Regions from separate parts of the Homo sapiens genome. Here regions 1, 2, 3, 4, 6 and 7 are each linked to region 5. Evidence: promoter capture Hi-C in 16 types of primary human blood cells and fetal thymus (Javierre and others, 2016). All regions are on one chromosome and are shown on one strand. The core of a region is centred on a gene start or on the middle of the fragment in contact, and the rest is flanking DNA. Distances in the headings are between cores, read along the strand shown.

Region 1 (2,700 bases), core at 105-2,604, 320 kb after region 5:
TATTCTGTTATTTAAAAATAGACACGAAAATTATATATATACATAGTAAATTTTTAAATGACTTTAACCTTTATTTTAGATTCATGAGGTACATGTACAGGTTTGCTACATGGGTATATTGCATGATGCGGAGGGTTGGCTTCTAAAGATCACATCGCCCAGATAGTGAGCATAATACCCAACAGTTAGTTTTTCAACCCTTATGTCCCTCCCCTCCTTCCCCTTCCTATAAGTCCCCAATGTCTATTTTTGCCATCTTTATGTTCATAAGTACCTAGCATGTAGATCCCACTTAAAGCAAGACCATGCAATATTTGTTTTTCTGTTCCTGCATTAATTTCCTTAGGATAATTACCTCCAGCTGTATCCATGTTGTTACAAAGGACATGGTTCCATTCATTTTTATGGCTGTGCGGTATTTGTGTATATGTACCACATCTTCCTTATACAGTAAACCGTTGATGAGTACCTAGGTTGATTCCATGTCTTTGCTATTACTAGTAGTGCTGTGATGAACATATAAGTATGTGTCTTTTGGTAGAACAATTTATTTTCTTTTTGATACATATCCAGTAATGGGGTTGCTGGGTCAAATAGTAGTTTTAAGTTCTTTGAGAAATCTCCAAACAGTTTTCCGCAGTGGCTGAACTAATTTATATTTCCACTGACAGTGCATAGGCAGCTCCTTTTCTCTGCAGCCTCACCAGAATCTGTTTTTTGATTTTTTAATAATAGCCATTCTGACGCGTGTGAGATGATATTTCATTGTGGTTTTGATTTGCATTTCTCTGATGATTCGTGTTGCTGAGCATTTTTTCATATGCTTGTTGGCCGCTTATATGTCTTCTTTTGAGAATTGTCTGTTCATATCTTTTGTCTATTTTTTTATGGAGTTATTTGTGTTTTGCTTGTTGCATTGTTTAACTTCCTGATAGATTCTGGACATCAAATCTTTGTCAATTGTATAGGTTGCAAATATTTTTTCTCATTCTGTAGGTTCTGTTTACTCTGTTGATGGCTTCTTTTGCTTTACAGAGTGCTTTAGTTTAATTAGGTCTCACTTGTCAATTTTTGTTTTTGTTGCAATTGCTTTTGAGGACTTAATCATGCATTCTTTCCCAAGGACAATGTCCAGAATGATGTTTTCTTCTAGGATTCTTATAGTTTGAGGTCTTATATTTAAGTCTTTTGTCCATCTTGAGTTAAGTTTTACATATGGTGAAAGGTGGGGATTTAGTTTCATTCTTCTGCATGTAGCAGCCAGCCAGCTATCCCAATACCACTTACTAAATAGGGAGTCCTTTCCCCATTGCTTATTTTTGTCAACTTTGTCAAAGATCAGATGCTGTAGGTGAGTGCCTTTATTCTGGGTTCTTTATTCTGTTCCATTGGTCTATGTGCCTGCTTTTGTACCAGTAAATGTATATTGCAAATCCTAAGACAACCAGTAAAATACTTTAAAAAGAGGCATAAATAAAAATCCAACAGTGGAGATAAACTAGAATCATAAAAAAACTTAATCCAAAACTAAGTAGAAAAAGAAGTAAAAAAAAAAAAAAAGACAGAAGAGGAAACAAATGGAAAATACCTAGTAAAATAGTACAGTTTAATACAATCCTATTCATAATTATATTAAACTTAAATCATTTACCTGTACTAATTAAAATATGAAAATTATCAGATTGGATGAGAACATAAAATATCCATATGCTATCTACAAGAAACACTTTAGATATAAAGACTTAAATAGGTTGAAAATAAAAGGAGGGAAAAAAGATATGCAACAACACTAATAAAAAGAAGTCTGGAGCGGCTATAATAATATCAGACAACATCGACTTCAAAAGGAAGATATTATCAGAGATAAAGAGGACCATAATGATAAAGGATTCAGTTTTCCAAGAAGACATAACAATCCTAAATGTGTATGCACCTAACAACTGAGTTTCTAAATTTATGAAGCAAATGTTTTAGAGCTGAGAAGAAAAATAGGCAAATCTACAATTGTACTTGGAGAGCTTAATGCTGCTCTCTCATCAATTGGTAGAATATGTAAGAGAGAATCAGCAAGTGTATAGAAGACCCAAGCGTCACTACCAACATACTTAACCTAATTGATATTTACCTAACACTCCACCCAATAACAGCAGAATCCACATTCTTTCCATGTGCAAATTAAACACTCACCAAGATAGACCATATTCTGAGTCGTAATACAAACCTTAACAATTTTAAAATAATCAAATCATACGAAAGATTTTGTCTACCCAGGACAGAATTAACTTAGAAATCAATAAAAAAAGATATGTGGAAATTCTGCAAATATTCAGAAATTAAACATCATACTTCTAAATAACCAGTGAGTCACAGAGGAAGTCAAAAAGAAATTAGAAAATATTTTTTACTGAACTAGTATGAATACATAACATAAAATGTATGTAAAGTTTCCAAAGCAGTGCTTAGAGGGAAATTTGTAACATAAAAATCTTTATATTATTCTTATATTAGGAAAAAGTTCACAAATTAATGATCTAAGATTTCACTTTAAGAAACTAAAAAAGGACAAATTAAACCTGACATGAGCAAAAGAAAAGGAATATGAAAAATAAGAGTAGAAATCAATGAAATTTATAAGAGCAATACAATGGAGAAAGTCATCAACAAAACTAATGAACCTCTAATAAAACTGATAAAAGAAAA
Region 2 (2,700 bases), core at 193-2,692, 280 kb after region 5:
GCCCCCAAACATTCTCAGCAGGGCCTACAGGAGCTCTGAGGCTAGAGCAGCCCTAAGTTGGGATGACACAATTCAAAGATTTTACTTCCACATCAATCAGTCTTTGGATATGGGTCACCCTGGGAAGGGACATGACCTTAGATGAGGCATCTCCCACATTCATTGCTGGGAAAGAAGGTCCTCTTTACTCTGGATTTGTTTCAGCTGGTCTGTTGTTAGCCATGTTTTCTGTCACACAGAGAGAGCCTGTCTATCCTAATACAAAATACAAGTGACAGCTGGAGGGAGAGAAAGACAGAGAATCAGAGAAAGTTCTGGGGTTCACAGAAAGTTCTGGGGTTCACAGGTTACTACTTGCAATCCCTGCGGCCTGATTCCTTCAACTTTTCCTTCAGTTTTCTCAGATAGTCCAGTATCTTTTCTAGCAATATAAGTGAAGAAAACTCCCTCTCACTTCAGCTAATGTGAGCTGAGTTTTTATTACCTGACCATTTGCAATATCAGGTTAACTCAGTTACCAAACCTAGGTAAGCAAAACACACACAGTTGACTAATATCAGGTATGAATATAGAATAAACCATAATAATACCATAAAAAAAGCATTAATGTTGCATATAAAAAGACTAACTCACTCTGATGGTTCCTTTTAGGTGTCAAATTGACTGGGTTAAGGAATAGCCACATAGCTTGTAAAACATTATTTCTGGGTATGTCTGTGGAAATGTTTCTGCAAGGGATTGGCATTTGAATCAATGGGCTGAGTAAGAAAGATCTGCCCTTATCCAGTCTGGGCAGGCACTATCCAACCCATTGAGGGTTCAGATAGAACAAAAAGGCAGAGGAAAGGCAAATTCATTCACTGTATTCTACAGCTGGGACACTTTTCTTCAACTAATCTTGGACATCAGAACTTCGGGTTCTATGGCCTTTGGACTCTAGGACTTGCACTAGCAGGCCCCCAAGGTTCTCAGGCTGTTAGCCTCAGAATGAGACTTACATTATTGGCTTCCCTGGTTGTGAAGCCTTTGGGCTTGGACCAAGCCGTACTATCAACTTCCCTGTTTCTTTCACATGCAGATGGCCTATATTTGGACTTCTCAGCCTCCATAATCACATGAGCCAATTGCCCTAACAAATCTTGTGTTAAGCCATTCTTGTGTTGCTATAAAGGAATACCAGAAACTGGGTAATTTATTTTTTAAAAAAGGTTTAATTGTCTCATGGTTCTGTAAGCTGTACAGGAAGCATGGTGCTGACATCTGCTAGGCCTCTTGGGGAACCTCAGGGAGCTTTTACTCATGGTGGAAGGCAAAGGGGGTGTCAGTATATCACATTGCAAAAGAAGGAGTAAGATAGAGAGTTCCGGAGGAGATGCCACATACTTTTAAACAACCAGATATCACAAGAACTCACTCACTATCTTAAGGACAGCACCAAGCCATGAGGGATCTACTGCCATAACCCAAACACCTCCCACCAGGCCCCACCTTCAACATTAGGGATTATAATTCAGCATGAGATTTAGAGGGGGCAACATCCAAACTATATGAAATCTCATCTTCTATATCTATGGATATGTATTCTGTTGGTTCTGTCTCTCTGGAGAACTCTGAGTAATACACCTGCCATAACCAAAGTCTATCCCAGGAATGCAAAGATGGTTTAATATAGGAAAAATTTGTCACCAGTCCCAGTGGCTCACGTCTGTAATCCTGGCACTTTGGGAGGCTGAGGTGGGCGGGTCACAAGGTCAGGAGTTTGAGACCATCCTCGCCAATATGGTGAAACCCTCTCTCTACTAAAAATACAAAAATTAGCCAGGCGTGCTGGTGGGTGCCTGTAATCCCAGCTACTCGGGAGGCTGAGGCAGGAGAATTGCTTGAAACTGGAAGGCAGAGGTTGCAGTGAGCCGAGATCATGCCACTGCACTCCAGCCTGGGTGAAAGAGCAAAACTCTGTCTCAAAAAAAAAAGAAAAAAAAAAGAAGAAAAATTTGTCAATATAGTTTACTGAATCATAACAACTTTCAAATAAGAAAATACATATAATCACCTTAGTAGAAGGGTGTGGTAGGCTGAATAATGGGCCTCCCCAAAATGTCTGTGTCCTCATTCCTGGGACCTATGAATATGTATTTTATATGGCAAAAGGGACTTTAAATATGTAATTTAAGGATCTTGAGATAAAGAGATGATCCTGAATGATCCAGGTGAGCCCAATGTAATCACAAAGGTCCTGGTAGAGGGAAGCAGTAGAGCTAGAGATAGAGAAGGCCATGTGACAATGGAAGCAGAGACTGGTATGATGTGCTTTGAAGAGAAGGAAGGAGTCATGAACTGAGGAGTGTAGAGGGCCTCCAAAAGTTGGACAAAGCAAGAAAACAGATTCTTTTCTCAGAATCTCCAGAAGAAACTGGCCTTGCCAACACTTTGCCTTTTGCCCTGTTAAAATGAAAACTTCAGAAAAATTAAATTTAACAGAGTTTAATTGAGCAAAAAATGATTCACAAGTTGTGCAGCCTCTGGAACCAGAATAGGTTCAAAAGGACTCCAGGGCTGCCACATGGTCAGATAATATTTGTGAACACAGAAAGGAAAGCAACATATGGAAAATAGAAGTAAGGTACAGAAATAGCTGGATTGGTTACAGCTTGGCGTTTGCCTTATTTGAAGATGGTTTGAACAGTTGACTGCCTGTGA
Region 3 (2,700 bases), core at 173-2,672, 390 kb before region 5:
GGTTACCTGTAGCCAAGGAACAACCAGTTCTTTCCTGGGAAGGTAGGAACATTTTCACTTCATGCCTATTGACAGCCAAGTGAATGAGCTACACAAGAAGCAGTAAGTCTGGTTACCAAAGTGATACTTTTCCCTGGTGCACACCTAAAACAAATTTTAAATGTGCATTGATTAGTAAAGAACAAGGGAATCCGTGAGGCATTAGAGAAAAGAGTACCAGCCATGGCTTTGTCTCAGGACCTTGGACCTTACCTGCTCATCTCCCACATCTATCAAATGAGGCTTAAGAAGGTTTTCTTCAGAGTCCATTCTACCTCTATAATTTCATGACTTTTTTGGTATATATAGTCATCCCTTGGTATCCTCAGGAGTTCCAGGACACCCACGGTTACCAAAATCCACAGAACCTACACATATTCTCACATGTACTATAAATCATCTTAGATTACTCATAATACCTAATATGACATAAATGCTATGTAAGTACTTTTTATTGTTGTGTTTTTTATTGTTTTTCCTGAATATTTTTTAATCTGCAGTTGGTTGAATCTGATGATGCAGAACCCTTGGATATCAAGGGCTGACTGTGCCTGTGTGTGTGTGTACATGTGTGTACACATTTACCTAAAATACCCTAGATAATATTGCATGAGAAATAATAATATAAGAGCTAGATATTTGCTCCAAGTTAGGTGATGGGAAGAAGGGAAATCATCATTTGCTTGAGGACTACATGAGATCTTAGGTTGTTAAAGCTTATTTGCTTCATGTCTATGTTTAAGGTTGTGAAGCTTTGAGTAAAAGAGAGAAAAAAAGACAAATTTCATTCTCAAACAATGATCCAGCTGTTTAAAAAGTTCTACTCTGGGTAAAAGCAGAATGTAGTTTTGTATGTGCATAATAATCTATCAGATAAGTGAAGGAAAAAAGCATAAAATTGTTAAAAGATTAGAAGGAAATGTAGCAAAAGTTAATATAGCTGTTTCTAAGGGTGGTATAAATAGTAAGTTTTCATGTTTTTATAATTTTCTGTGTTTTCCAAAATTTTTAAAGCAATCAAAATAATTTAATGCAAAGAAATTCCAAATGAACAATCTTAGCCTCAATGTTCACCTAACAAAACCAGTGTCAATGGCTCGAGCAGGGGATAAAAGACTATAAAGAGGTGGAGACGGAGTGCTTCAGGCAGAGGACTACCACGGTCAAAGGATCAGAGGTGACAAAAAGAATAACTTTCATAGGAACAGAAATTTCACTCTGACCTCAATGAGTCCAGGAAAGACACTGGACAGAATAAAGAGATGAGGCCAAGAAGGAACAAGATCTCAAAGAACTATGTGAACCAACTAAGGAATAGGCCGTTATAACATTTTTTAGTACCTAAAGACACAAACCTGGCTGGATGCAGTGGCTCACACCTGTAATCCCAGCACTTTGGGAGGCCGAAGTGGGCGGATCACCTGAGGTCAGGAGTTCAAGACCAGCCTGGCCAACATGGCGAAACCCTGTCTCTACTAAAAAATACAAAAATTAGCCAATCGTGGTGGCAGGCACCTGTAATCCCAGCTACTCGGGAGGCCGAGGCAGGGAGAATCGCTTAAACTTGGGAAGTGGAGGTTGCAGTGAGCTGAGATCAGGCCACTGCACTCCAGCCTGGGTGATAAAGTAAGACTCTGTCTCAAAAAAAAAAAAACAAAAAAAAAAAACACACAAACCTAAGACTTTTGAGGCCTTAATGAAACTTTATCTGTGCCCAGTCTATGGTGCTAACTTGAACATCTGTCTCTAGGGAGGTTCTGAACTATCTGACAGGCTTTACCAAGGTGACCAGGCTTCTCCTTTCTTAGGCAATAAGGAACCTTCAAAGGTCTCTATTGGCCTCTGTACTGGCTGAAGAGATAAATTCACAGAAAAAGCATCTCTTCATTAGCTTCATCTATTTCAAGAACTTATTCAAAACACTGAAGAGATTGTCCCTGCATCCTAACTTCTGGTCCTCTCATCTAACCTCCCTCTGCGATGGAGTCTGGATAGTCAATGCTGAGGACCAGGTAAAGCTTGAAAGGAAAAGAGTCACTTGCTTCATGATCTAGGTCCTGGAGCAGATATTGATAACGAATTGTCTGATAGCTAAACACATAACTATATTAATCCTCTTGGTTATAAGTATCTATGATGTTCTCAGAATACTTTTTATGATAATTTCTAATAACGTTGTGATGTTTTCTCCTAATTCAACAAGTTTTCTCTTATACATCGTGGAAACATTTCTCACCTAGACTTCCTACAGACTCATTTCCAAAATTCTTCAAATTTGTAGCAGATATCTCAGGAAACTGGGGTATAAAATAATAAGGATACTAACTTATTCTTTTCAGAAAAGTAAATTAATTTTTTTGCAAATAAGGTCATACTAAATGGTTTCTTCCAACTCATTCCAGCTAGAATGAGTACCTTGGACAAGTTTACCTACACAAAAGTTACAGGCAAAGGAAGAGGCATATGCTGGTTATTCTAGAACGATAGTACCAGAACGAGGCCAGTTAAGTAAAGCCACTTCAAAATAATACCAAATTTCATATTAAAGAGCAGGAGGAAAGATTGAAACAACATCTTAAAAAGTAAATTATGAAACCAAGATGTATTTTATTTTACGTTTAACAAAATTTAAGTTATACTGCAACATTGCCCTGGTAACTA
Region 4 (2,700 bases), core at 52-2,551, 340 kb after region 5:
AAGTGGTGCTGGGAAAACTGGCTAGCCATATGTAGAAAGCTGAAACTGGATCCCTTCCTTACACCTTACACAAAAATCAATTCAAGATGGATTAAAGACTTAAATGTTAGACCTAACACCATAAAAACCCTAGAAGAAAACCTAGGCATTACCATTCAGGACATAGGCATGGGCAAGGACTTCATGTCTAAAACACCAAAAGCAATGGCAACAAAAGACAAAATTGACAAATGGGATCTAATTAAACTAAAGAGCTTCTGCACAGCAAAAGAAACTACCATCAGAGTGAACAGGCAACCTACAAAATGGGAGAAAAGTTTCGCAACCTACTCATCTGACAAAGGGCTAATATCCAGAATCTACAATGAACTCAAACAAATTCACAAGAAAAAAACAAACAACCCCATCAAAAAGTGGGCGAAGGACATGAACAGACACTTCTCAAAAGAAGACATTTATGCAGCCAAAAAACACATGAAAAAATGCTCACCATCACTGGCCATCAGAGAAATGCAAATCAAAACCACAATGAGATACCATCTCACACCAGTTAGAATGGCAATCATTAAAAAGTCAGGAAACAACAGGTGCTGGAGAGGATATGGAGAAATAGGAACACTTTTACACTGTTGGTGGGACTGTAAACTAGTTCAACCATTGTGGAAGTCAGTGTGGCGACTGGATTCCTCAGGGATCCAGTACTAGAAATACCATTTGACCCAGCCATCCCATTACTGGGTATATACCCAAAGGACTATAAATCATGCTTCTATAAAGACACATGCACACATATGTTTATTGAGGCATTATTCACAATAGCAAAGACTTGGAACTAACCCAAATGTCCACCAATGATAGACTGGATTAAGAAAATGTGGCACATATATACCATGGAATACTATGCAGCCATAAAAAATGATGAGTTCATGTCCTTTGTAGGGACATGGATGAAATTGGAAATCATCATTCTCAGTAAACTATCGCAAGAACAAAAAACCAAACACCACATATTCTCACTCATTGGTGGGAATTGAACAATGAGATCACATGGATACAGGAAGGGGAATATCACACTCTGGGGACTGTTGTCAGGTGGGGGGGAGTGGGGAGGGATAGCATTGGGAGATATACCTAATGCTAGATGACAAGTTAGTGGGTGCAGCTCACCAGCATGTCACATGTATACATATGTAACTAACCTGCACAATGTGCACATGTACCCTAAAACTTATAATAATAAAAATAAATAAATAAAATAGAAATGCTTTTACGTTTTTGGTAGGAGTGTAAATTAGTTCAACCATTGTGGAAGACAGGTGGCAATTCCTTAAGGATCTAGAACCAGAAATACCATTAGACCTAGCAATTCCATCACCGGATATATACCCAAAGGATTATAAATCATTCTACTATAAAGACACATGCAGACTTATGTTTATTGTGGCACTGTTCACAATAGCAAAGACTTGGAACCAACCCAAATGCCCATCAATGATAGACTGGATAAAGAAAATGTGGCACATATACACCATGGCATACTATGCAGCCATAAAAAGGATGAGTTCATGTCCTTTGCAGGGACGTGGATGATGCTGGAAACTATCATTCTCAGCAAACTAACACAAGAATAGAAAACCAAATGCCACATGTTCTCACTCATAAGTGGTAGTTGAACAGTGAGAACACATGGACACAGGGAGGGGAACATCACACACTGTGGCCTCTCGGGGGTGGGGGGCTAGGGGCGGGGTAGCATTAGGAGAAATACCTAATGTAGATGATGGGTTGATGGGTGCAGAAAACCACCGTGGCACATGTATACCTGTGTAACAAACCTGCACGTGCTGCACATGTATCCCAGATTTAAGGTTAATAAAAAAGATAAAAACACTTCTAATATATATTTTTTATTTTATTTTACTTTAAGTTCTAGGATGCTTGTGCAGGACGTGCAGGTTTGTTACATAGGTATACATGTGCCATGGTGGTTTGCTGTACCCATTAACCCATCATCTAGATAACACTTCTAATATTAAACATTGAGATAAATGTGAGATATACATACATTCAAGAAAGATTAATAAAAATGAATAAGATAATTATTTGCCCAATTATTTCAGTTCAGGGTCATAGGCAGGTGGAGCCTATCCCAGCAGCGCAGGGCTCAACGAAGGAACCCCCACTCTGGACAGGATGGCATTCCCTTGCAGGGCACACTTGCACACACCCATGTCCACTCAGGCAGGGGCAACCGAGACATCCCGTTATCTAATGTGCACATACTTGGGATGTGAAAGGAAACCGGAGTACCCAGAGAAAACCCACACAGACATGGAGCAGATGTGCAAACTCCACACAGACAGTGTCATCAGCTGGGAATGGGTAGAATAATTATGTTGCTCAAGTACCTGTCTCAAGGGGTTATTGTGAGACTTACATATAAAGCACTTAAAATACAAATATGGGCAATATATGAATTATCCATTATTATTGTTATAATTATTTAGCATATAGTAAGTGACACAGGTAAGACTTATTCTCAGATGTGAGGACTTTCAAAGGTATCTAGTAAATATAACCATTTTTTCCTTTTCAAGGACCTATTTTTCAGACTATCAAAAGCATCAAACATATTTTTGAAGATGAAAGAGAGTTTAAGGGGAAATTAATGCTATTCAACTTAAGGAAAAGCTATTAAAG
Region 5 (2,700 bases), core at 183-2,682:
CAGGGCAGATCTAACCACCTACTCCGACCGAGCTTCCGAGGCCGGCGCTCTAGCCTTCATGCCCACCTCCCGGAGACGCCCCGTGGAGACCCTGGCGCCTAAAACTGCGGGAGCCCATCTACTGCGCTCAGGTGGCCAGCTCTTGAGCCTTCCCTATCCGTGGCTCCTTGCCGGCATGCAGGCATGCACAAGCATACCGCCGAGCAGGAGGATCTAACGAATCCAGCTTGTGGACATGCCCTAATTTCCATTTCCGCCTCCTCCAGGTCTGTTCAGGTGAGGATGATGGGAGGGAAAAGCGGTGTACAGCCGTAACATTGGCACCCTGCAAGAGCCGCCGGGGCACTGACACAGAGGGACACCGCATTGGAGATGCGGTGTCTACGGAGATTTATTGCGCGCGGTGAAACACTCTAAGCACCGCGCGGAACAACTGGGTTCAGCTCCCTCATCCCGGACCTTCCCCAGGACCACACGTCACCCTTTATCCCCGAACCCAGGGGCCCCTCCACGCTGCGCTCACCTGCCCTGTTTCGTAATGATCATCTCAGTTTGGTGGCGGTGGAATTTGAGCCACAGAGGCCGGTTGCACAGGTAGACGTGGGCACGGAAGCCAGAACCTGGAACCCCCAGGCCCCCCAGTCCTCCGCAAGATCCCGCCGCTGCGGCTCCAGGGTACGGCCCGTAGAGCGGAGCCCCCTGGCTGTACTGATAGGTGCCCGGGCCGCCGCCCCCGCCGCTGCTACCGCCCGCGCCACTGCCCGCACCGGCTCCTGGGCCGAACTGCGCCCTCCCGGGTGGGCACACAGCCGCGGGGAAGCCGCCGGGGGGCAGCATGGAGCCGTAGGGGTAGCGCGCCCCGTTAGGAGCCGGGTACACAGGTCCGTGGGGCGCCCCAGCCGCCGCCTGGTACGGGAAGAGTGAGCAGGGCGCAGCCAGCTCCGACCCCTGAGGACCGGGGGACTGGAGGTAGTACCGCTCGGAGCTCAGGCTGTCCATGGAGTAGCGCGCAGTGGCCGCAGCCGCGGCGGCGGCGGCGGCGGCGGCTGCAGCGGCGGAGGGCAGCTCCTCCTCCCCGCAGGGGGAGCCCTTGCGGCCGTCCGGGGGCCCCGGCTTGGCCACTGCCGCAGCGCTGGCAAATGCGTCCCCGGCGTCGGTGTCACTAAGCATGGCCGCGGGGGCCCCTGCGCTGGCGGCTGCGGGCTCCCCGCTCACCGCCTCGCAGGAGAGACTGCCGGAAAACTTCTTGGACGCTTTGTCTAAGTCCAACTTCTGAGGAGAGGGGGCCGCGCTGGGGAGGTGGCCAGCGCTCCCGCCGCTGCCGCCTCGCGCACTCTCCAGCGGGTAGAAGTGCGCGCCAGGCAGGTTCACTGAGCTCACCAAGAGCTGCTCCCCTAACTGCATGCTTTGCAAAGCGCAGACGGCAGCTGGCTGCTTCCTCTCCTCCGGTGGCCTTATTATAAAGGCAGGATGGGGGAGCCAGCGCCCTCTTCCGAGGGGAAGGTAACTTCCCCTTCCTCCCGCGCCGGGGCTACCCACCTGCCGACTCGCGGGCCGCTACTGCGCGTACTGGCGCGCCCTGAATCCAGCGTCCTTTCCGGAAGGAAAGCGCCGTGAGTTGGAAAGCAGGAGGTGGAAACTAACCCAGAAGCCCTCTCCTTTTCCTTCCTCGTACCTCTTGCTCCTCAGGACCCCCACCCTCCTCCCAGGCTCACACGCTGGAAGAAGGTGACTTAGATCTTTGTCCCCATCCACCCACTAGCCCGCGCCTTTCTGCCCTTTTTCAATTGCCAAAGCATCGGTCAAGTTGACCACTTGGAAACTTATGGGCTGTCACTAGCTGCTTTATATATTTGCGGCCAGGGAGGGGCTTCCCGGCCTCACAGCCCGGAGACCCTCCTATTGGCTGGTGGAGGTGACACTAATTCAATTAGGCATTTACTAATTGGATCAAGTCGCCTGTGACTTTCTTTTCCTTTTTTTTTTTTTTTTTTTTTTTTTTTTTTTGAGACTGCGTCCCGCTGTGATAATCAATCCTGGTGTCTGTAATTTCGCCGGAATTTAGGGGGACAAAGTTTGGGGTCTCCATAGCGGTGTCCACCCTTGGCGCATTAGTCATCTCAGCCCTCCGCTGGAGGAATGAGATGGCTGGAGCAGATTTTAGAGGCCAGAGAGAGAAAGACTCTTCAAGCTGATAGCTTGCAGGGAAGCGCCCGTCCCGGAGGCTGGGGAAACTGGGGCAAGTTGGAGACAGGCCCAAGGAAGTCTCTTTCCTCGTCGGAAGCTGTAACTTCAAAGCACACCTTCCTCTTGTCGAAGGCAAACTCCCTGGCCTTCAACGCACAGAACCACTTTTTGTTTGTTCCCATCCTTTTACCCAGTGGGAAAGGTTTGTAGAGAGGAAACTCGCGCTAAGCTTTTGGGATTCCGGGGACGGCCAGAGCACATTGCCATCCTGGAGGACCTAAGCTCTCAGCTTCTAAATCAGAAGCTTGGACAGGGTACTGGGGACAGGACAAGAGTGAAACTAAGCGAGCTAACACCAACTTCATACTCACGCCAACACAACTGCTTTCGGGGAGACAGTCACTTTTATTCCCCACAATTTAAAATCCTTTCTGCTCAGTTTTCCTGATCCCGGATTCCGTCCCTTCACCACCATCTTCAGTTAGGCCTGACACCAAGAAACAAAGCTTCCCT
Region 6 (2,700 bases), core at 125-2,624, 370 kb before region 5:
ACTCTACATAGCCACACTGTCCTGCTGTTGGCTTCGAATTCCTGCTCAAACTATAGCTACAGACTATAGTTTAGAAGCAGAAAATAGAAGCCGCAATGACAAGCACAGGAGAGCCTATGGAGAAGCTCACAGGCTTCTTCTGCTAGAAGGGGATCGCGTTTACCACTATCAAACTCGCTAAACACCCTGTCTTATTCTCTTGCTTAATTTCCATAATTGTATTGAACAAGTATGTGAACAGGAAATAATGATCTAATCGTTATATCTGTTTGAGATCAGCATGTACTCTGTGAGCTGGAAGGCTGAATATAAATGACTCTTTGGAAATGTTGCACTTAACTAAACAGTAAACAAATTCACCAGTATCAGCAGAAACAGATAATTGTCTTTAGGATAAAAAACAAAATCCTTTCCATTTAATGGCTGCTTAAATGGAGATATTCTGAAAAAAAGCTTTGAGAAGTTGGGAATGCTTTAAAATAGTTAACCTAATCCCATTTTAAATTAACAAAAATGATTACATTATACTAATGTCTACACTATAATACAAAATGGGAGATGGGGGAAGGAAGGGCAGTTCATATGTTAAGTTGCCCAAAGGCAGACAATGTATTAAGAAAGCATTCCCAACAGAGGTCAGGCAAGGGTGCTAACACAAAAGCTCTCTAGAGGGTAGCTTTGGTCTAAGCCCATGGAGGAATGCTGCAGTGTAGATTAGTCCTCAGAGTTGTCTAAACTGAGAGAAGTGAGAGCCTGGCTCTCATATTCCTGTAGCCTTCAGTCATAACTCCCCAGGCACTCCTCTCTTGTGGTAGTGACTCCAAGTCACTTAGAGGCAGTCCTCTCAAAAAGACATACAGAATCTAGCTGTTAAAGCAGAACATTGAAGCCAATACGAGGACACACAGTCCCAAGGAATGGGAGAGGCTCTGGGCAGAGTGCCCACATATATCCACTAAAATCAACGACTCCATGTGGAAGAGCTGTGGGTAATGAAGGTAAAGGATCTTTGCTATGGATACAAACTAAGCAGCGCCTGCTGCATTAGCTTCCAACTACTGAGTTGAATTTCCCTCTTTCTTTGCTTGACCTCGCCAGATGTTGTTATGATCTCATGTCCTAGCAGCTCAGTCCTTGGTCCTCCTCCCTTCTCTATCTGCCCCCTCTCCCAAGGATCTCTTGCAGTCCCATGGTTTTACATACCATCAGCAATTATAAATTTATATGTTCAGCCCTAACCCCATTCTGACCTCCTAAATTCACAAAGTCACTATATGGATGCCTAATGAGCATCCCAAATTTAACATACCCTAAACAGAACTCTTGACCCCCACCCCCTAGTAACAAATGCCCCTAGTGCTCCTCATCTTGGTAACTGGTACCACAATGGCTCTCTAGACAAAAGTTCAGGGGACATTCTTGGCTCCTCTCTTTCCTCTACCTCCCATATTCAAGCCACCAGCAAAACTAGTTAGCTTTCCCTTCTTTCCACTCCTACTATCACCCTACTCCAAGCCACCATCTTCTCTGCCTGGATGACTGCCACAACCCCCTCAAGAGTCTCTCTGCTTCCACTCTTGCTCCTCTACATCCTCAGGAACCCCAGGGAATGCTTTAAAATGTAAATCAGATCATACCACTCTGTGGCTTACAACCTTCCTGTGGCCTTCTATTGGACTTGGCTTCCAACCATGACTTTCACTGCTCTGAGCTTGCCTCCTCCCCTCTCCCTCTTGCTTCCTCCACTTCAGCCATGTTGGCTTTCTAGAGAGAAACATGAACCCACGAACATGCCAAATGCTATGGTTTGAATGTCTATCCTCTCCAAAATTCATGTTGAAATTTAATTGCCACTAAAACAGTATTAAAAGGTAGGACCTTTGAGAGATAATTGAGCCAAGAGTCTGTCCTCATGAGTGGGTTTAGTGCATTTTACAAAGGGCTTTCAGGAATGAGTTCTCTCTCTTTGCTCTTCTGCCATGTAAGAAAAAGTGTGACTCCCAGAGAAAACAGCATTCAAGCCTCCATCTTGGAAGCAGGGACTGGGCACTTACCAGACACCAAGCCTACTAGCACCTTGATCTTGGACTTCCCAGCCTCCAGAACTGTTCTTTATAAATTACCTAGTCTGCCAGGCATGAAGGCTCATACCTGTATTCCTAACACCTTCAGAGGCTGAAGTGGGAGGATCACTTGAAGGTCAAGAGTTTGAAACCACCCTGGGCAACATACCAAGACTCCATCTCTACAAAAAATTTAAAAATAAGCCAAGTGTGGTGGTGTGTACCTGTAGTGCAAGCTTCAAGAAGCTGAGGCAAGAGGATTGCTTGAGCCCAGGAGGTTGAGGCTGCAGTGAGCCCTCATGGTGTTACTGCGTTCCAGCCTGAGCAACGGCACAAGATCCTGTCTCTTAAAAATAAACTAATAAATAAATACCCCAGTCTGTAGTATTCTATCATAGCAGCACAAAACAGACTAAGACCATTTGTGCCCATGAACATGCCAACTATATTCTTGCCTTAAGCACTTTCTGCCTGCTTGCTGTTCTTTTCCCATAATCTCACACTGGCTTCTCCATATCCTTTGGGTTTCAGGTCAGATGTGCTCTCCTAAGTGGGGTCTCCTCTGATGAGTATCTGTGACATATTCACCCCCACACACTCATACTTACCACAGCACTCTGTTTTCTTTCCTTCTGGA
Region 7 (2,700 bases), core at 58-2,557, 300 kb after region 5:
GTCTATCTCAGGTACACTGTAGAGGGTTTTGGAGGTAGCAAGCATGTAGAAGGACATTTAGGCCATGATTTTGATACCGTAGCTAATCTGCTGAGTTCAAAATATACTTCTCTAGCCTTGTGCTCTAAACCTGCATATACAATTTCCTGTTGGTATGGTCACTTGACTGTGTAATAGGGATCTCAAATATAACACATCTAAAATCGAACTTAAACTAACTGGATTGGAATTGATCCCCTGTTTACCCATTTATTCTCTTACCTGTTCTTTGTGTGGTCTTCTCCATCTCAGTCAATAACATCATAAACCATCCAGTTGCTCAAGCTAAAAGTTTAGACATCATTTTTTATTTTTGTATCTATCCTCTTCCTACATCTAATCCATCAGGAAGCCCTATCCTCTGCAGGGTTTGTACCATTGTGTAATGCATGAGAGTGAGCATTTCTCTACTGCTTTCTCAACAGAAATTGAAATTGAGTCTTTTTATTGGTTTATTTATTTATTTTTTTCCCTGTGGTCTATTCAGTTGTGCAAGATAATGAAGTTCTGGAGACCTAATACACAACAATGTGACAGTAGTTAACAATATTGTACTATATACTTGAAGTTTGCTAAGAAGGTAGATCTTAAGTATTCTCAACACACATACACAAAAGGTAACTATGTGAAGTGGGAGATGTGTTAATTAGCTTGATTGTGGTGAAGATTTCACAACAGATACACATATCAATTCATCAGTTGTATAACTTAAATATGTACAATTTTTAACTGTCAACTATACCTCAATAACTTTGGGGAAAAAATGTGAAAAGCAACAGGTATTTGAATATTTGCTAAAGCCCTTTCCTCCTTAGAGAGCCCTGCCCATAGCAAACTGCTAAAAGGTGCCCCCTATACACCAACCTCTGCTTCTCTCTATCCCCACTACCCTGCCCTTGTGCAACCTCTTCCTCACTCACCTGGACATTAAAGTGTCAGTGGCCTCCCTGTTCTCCTGCTTCCATTCTTGCCTTCCTTACACTCTGTTCTTCATCAAATGATCTACTTCAAACATAAGTCCCCTCATGTCACTTTCCTGCTTACAACAGCTTCCCATTTCACTCAGGATAAGACCCTGAGTTTTCTTCGCTTTGACCTACGAAGCCTGGGTGATTTTCCCCTTACTACCATTGTTATTTCATTCTGTAGCACTCTTCTTGCTCTCTGTGTTCCAGTCACACTGCCCCTCTTTCTTTCTTTTGAGTGTGCACGATGCTCACCCCTCTTCAGGGCCTTTGTGTTTGCTGGGCCTTCTGTGTGGAATGTTCTTTCTACTGAGCCTCCCTGTGCTTATTTCTTTGTGTCACTCAGGACTCAGCTGAAATCTCCTCTCTTCAGAGAGTCCTTCCCTGACCACACCAATCCATAGTGCCCCTCTACCACTGCCCCACCCCTGGAGGTCACACTATCATTTTTCCCTGCTTTGTTTTCTTTATAGCCCTCGTCATTAATCTAATATTATTTTCTGTATTTGTTTACCTCTTCATTGCCTTAATCACTCTCCAGGAATGTCAGCTCCGTGAGATGGGACTCTGCCTACTTTTTTTACTGTCTTTTCTCCAGACCTGAAGCTGTGTGTGGCACCTTAGCAAGTGCTCAATAAATATTTGCTAAGGAAATCAATGACCTGCTTCTTATGACTCATGGCATTGCCTCCACTTCCTCTTCTTCAGACCAACTCAGACGCATAGTCTTGGCTTCAGCTGCCATTGTTTATACCTGTTGCTTCACCACTTTTTTTCAACTTCACTGATGTATAACTGCCAGTTAAAAATTGTATATATTTAAATTATACAACTGGATGAATTGGTATGTGTATACATTGTGAAATATTCACCACAATCAAGCTAATTAACATATCCATCACCTCACATAGTTATATTGGTGTGTGTGTGTGTTGAGACCACTTAATATCTACCTTCTTAGCAAATTTCAAATATACAGTACAATATTGTTAACTATAGTGTCACGTTGTTGTACATCACATCTCCAGAATCTCCAGAGCTTTATTATCTTGCATAACTGAAACTTTGTACCTCTTGACCACTGATAACGGTTTGGCTCTGTGTCCCCACCCAAATCTCATCTTGAATTATATTTCCATAATTCCCACATGTTGTGGGAGGGACCCGGTGGGAGATAATTTGAATCATGGGGGTGGTTTCCCCCTTTACTGTTCTCATGGTAGTGAATAAGTCTCGAGATCTGATGGGTTTATCAGGGGTTTCCACTTTTGCATCTTTCTCATTTTCTCTTGCTGCTGCCATGTAAGAAGTGCCTTTCACCTCCTGCCATGATTCTGAGGCCTCCCTAGCTATGTGGAACTGTAAGTCCAATTAAACCTCTTTTTCTTCCCAGTCTTGGGTATGTCTTTATCAGCACCATGAAAACAGACTAATACAATAAATTGGTACCAGTAGAGTACTGAAAAGATAACCCAAAATGTGGAAGCAACTTTTGAACTGGGTAACAAACAGAGGTTGGAACAGTTTGGAAGGCTCAGAAGAAGCCAGGAAAATATGGGAAAGTTTGGAACTTTCTAGAGACTTATTGAATGGCTTTGCCCAAAATACTGATAGTGATATGGACAATAAGGTACAGGCTGAGGTGGTCTCAGATGGAGATGAGAAACTTGTTGGGGACTGGAGCAAAGATGACTCT

Evidence for each region. The method cuts DNA at HindIII sites, captures the fragments that hold promoters and counts their contacts. A CHiCAGO score of 5 or more calls a contact.
Region 1: a fragment that was not itself captured here is called in contact with the fragment with the promoter of EOMES in region 5 in 6 of 17 cell types (naive CD8 T cells, total CD8 T cells, total CD4 T cells and 3 more); the score reaches 9.3 in naive CD8 T cells.
Region 2: a contact is called between a fragment that was not itself captured here and the fragment with the promoter of EOMES in region 5, in 6 of 17 cell types (total CD8 T cells, naive CD8 T cells, non-activated CD4 T cells and 3 more). The highest score is 10.8, in total CD8 T cells.
Region 3: a contact is called between a fragment that was not itself captured here and the fragment with the promoter of EOMES in region 5, in 5 of 17 cell types (M1 macrophages, M0 macrophages, fetal thymus and 2 more). The highest score is 6.2, in M1 macrophages.
Region 4: a contact is called between a fragment that was not itself captured here and the fragment with the promoter of EOMES in region 5, in 6 of 17 cell types (activated CD4 T cells, total CD4 T cells, naive CD8 T cells and 3 more). The highest score is 11.6, in activated CD4 T cells.
Region 6: a fragment that was not itself captured here is called in contact with the fragment with the promoter of EOMES in region 5 in 1 of 17 cell types (total CD8 T cells); the score reaches 5.5 in total CD8 T cells.
Region 7: a fragment that was not itself captured here is called in contact with the fragment with the promoter of EOMES in region 5 in 6 of 17 cell types (naive CD8 T cells, activated CD4 T cells, non-activated CD4 T cells and 3 more); the score reaches 14.0 in naive CD8 T cells.

Annotation. Positions count from the first base shown.
Region 1 is chr3:28,044,305-28,047,004 of GRCh38, forward strand. No RefSeq gene overlaps it. Among named protein-coding and RNA genes, the nearest start is that of LINC01967, 17 kb to the left of the region's middle. The HindIII fragment of the contact is 5,132 bases long and covers 1-2,700 here.
Region 2 is chr3:28,001,746-28,004,445 of GRCh38, forward strand. No RefSeq gene overlaps it. Among named protein-coding and RNA genes, the nearest start is that of LINC01967, 26 kb to the right of the region's middle. The HindIII fragment of the contact is 5,809 bases long and covers 1-2,700 here.
Region 3 is chr3:27,329,558-27,332,257 of GRCh38, forward strand. All of the region lies in intron 5 of NEK10 (NIMA related kinase 10), which reads right to left. Among named protein-coding and RNA genes, the nearest start is that of NEK10, 38 kb to the right of the region's middle. The HindIII fragment of the contact is 1,266 bases long and covers 790-2,055 here.
Region 4 is chr3:28,064,020-28,066,719 of GRCh38, forward strand. No RefSeq gene overlaps it. Among named protein-coding and RNA genes, the nearest start is that of LINC01967, 37 kb to the left of the region's middle. The HindIII fragment of the contact is 4,860 bases long and covers 1-2,700 here.
Region 5 is chr3:27,720,891-27,723,590 of GRCh38, forward strand. It overlaps EOMES (eomesodermin), which reads right to left and starts at 1,433. Exons shown (of 6, transcript NM_001278182.2): 1 at 524-1,433. The coding sequence starts at 1,404. RefSeq lists a silencer at 859-1,068. The HindIII fragment of the contact is 2,734 bases long and covers 1-2,414 here.
Region 6 is chr3:27,354,100-27,356,799 of GRCh38, forward strand. The region is part of intron 1 of NEK10 (NIMA related kinase 10); the gene reads right to left. Among named protein-coding and RNA genes, the nearest start is that of NEK10, 14 kb to the right of the region's middle. The HindIII fragment of the contact is 1,846 bases long and covers 452-2,297 here.
Region 7 is chr3:28,021,456-28,024,155 of GRCh38, forward strand. All of the region lies in intron 1 of LINC01967 (long intergenic non-protein coding RNA 1967), which reads right to left. Among named protein-coding and RNA genes, the nearest start is that of LINC01967, 5.8 kb to the right of the region's middle. The HindIII fragment of the contact is 8,805 bases long and covers 1-2,700 here.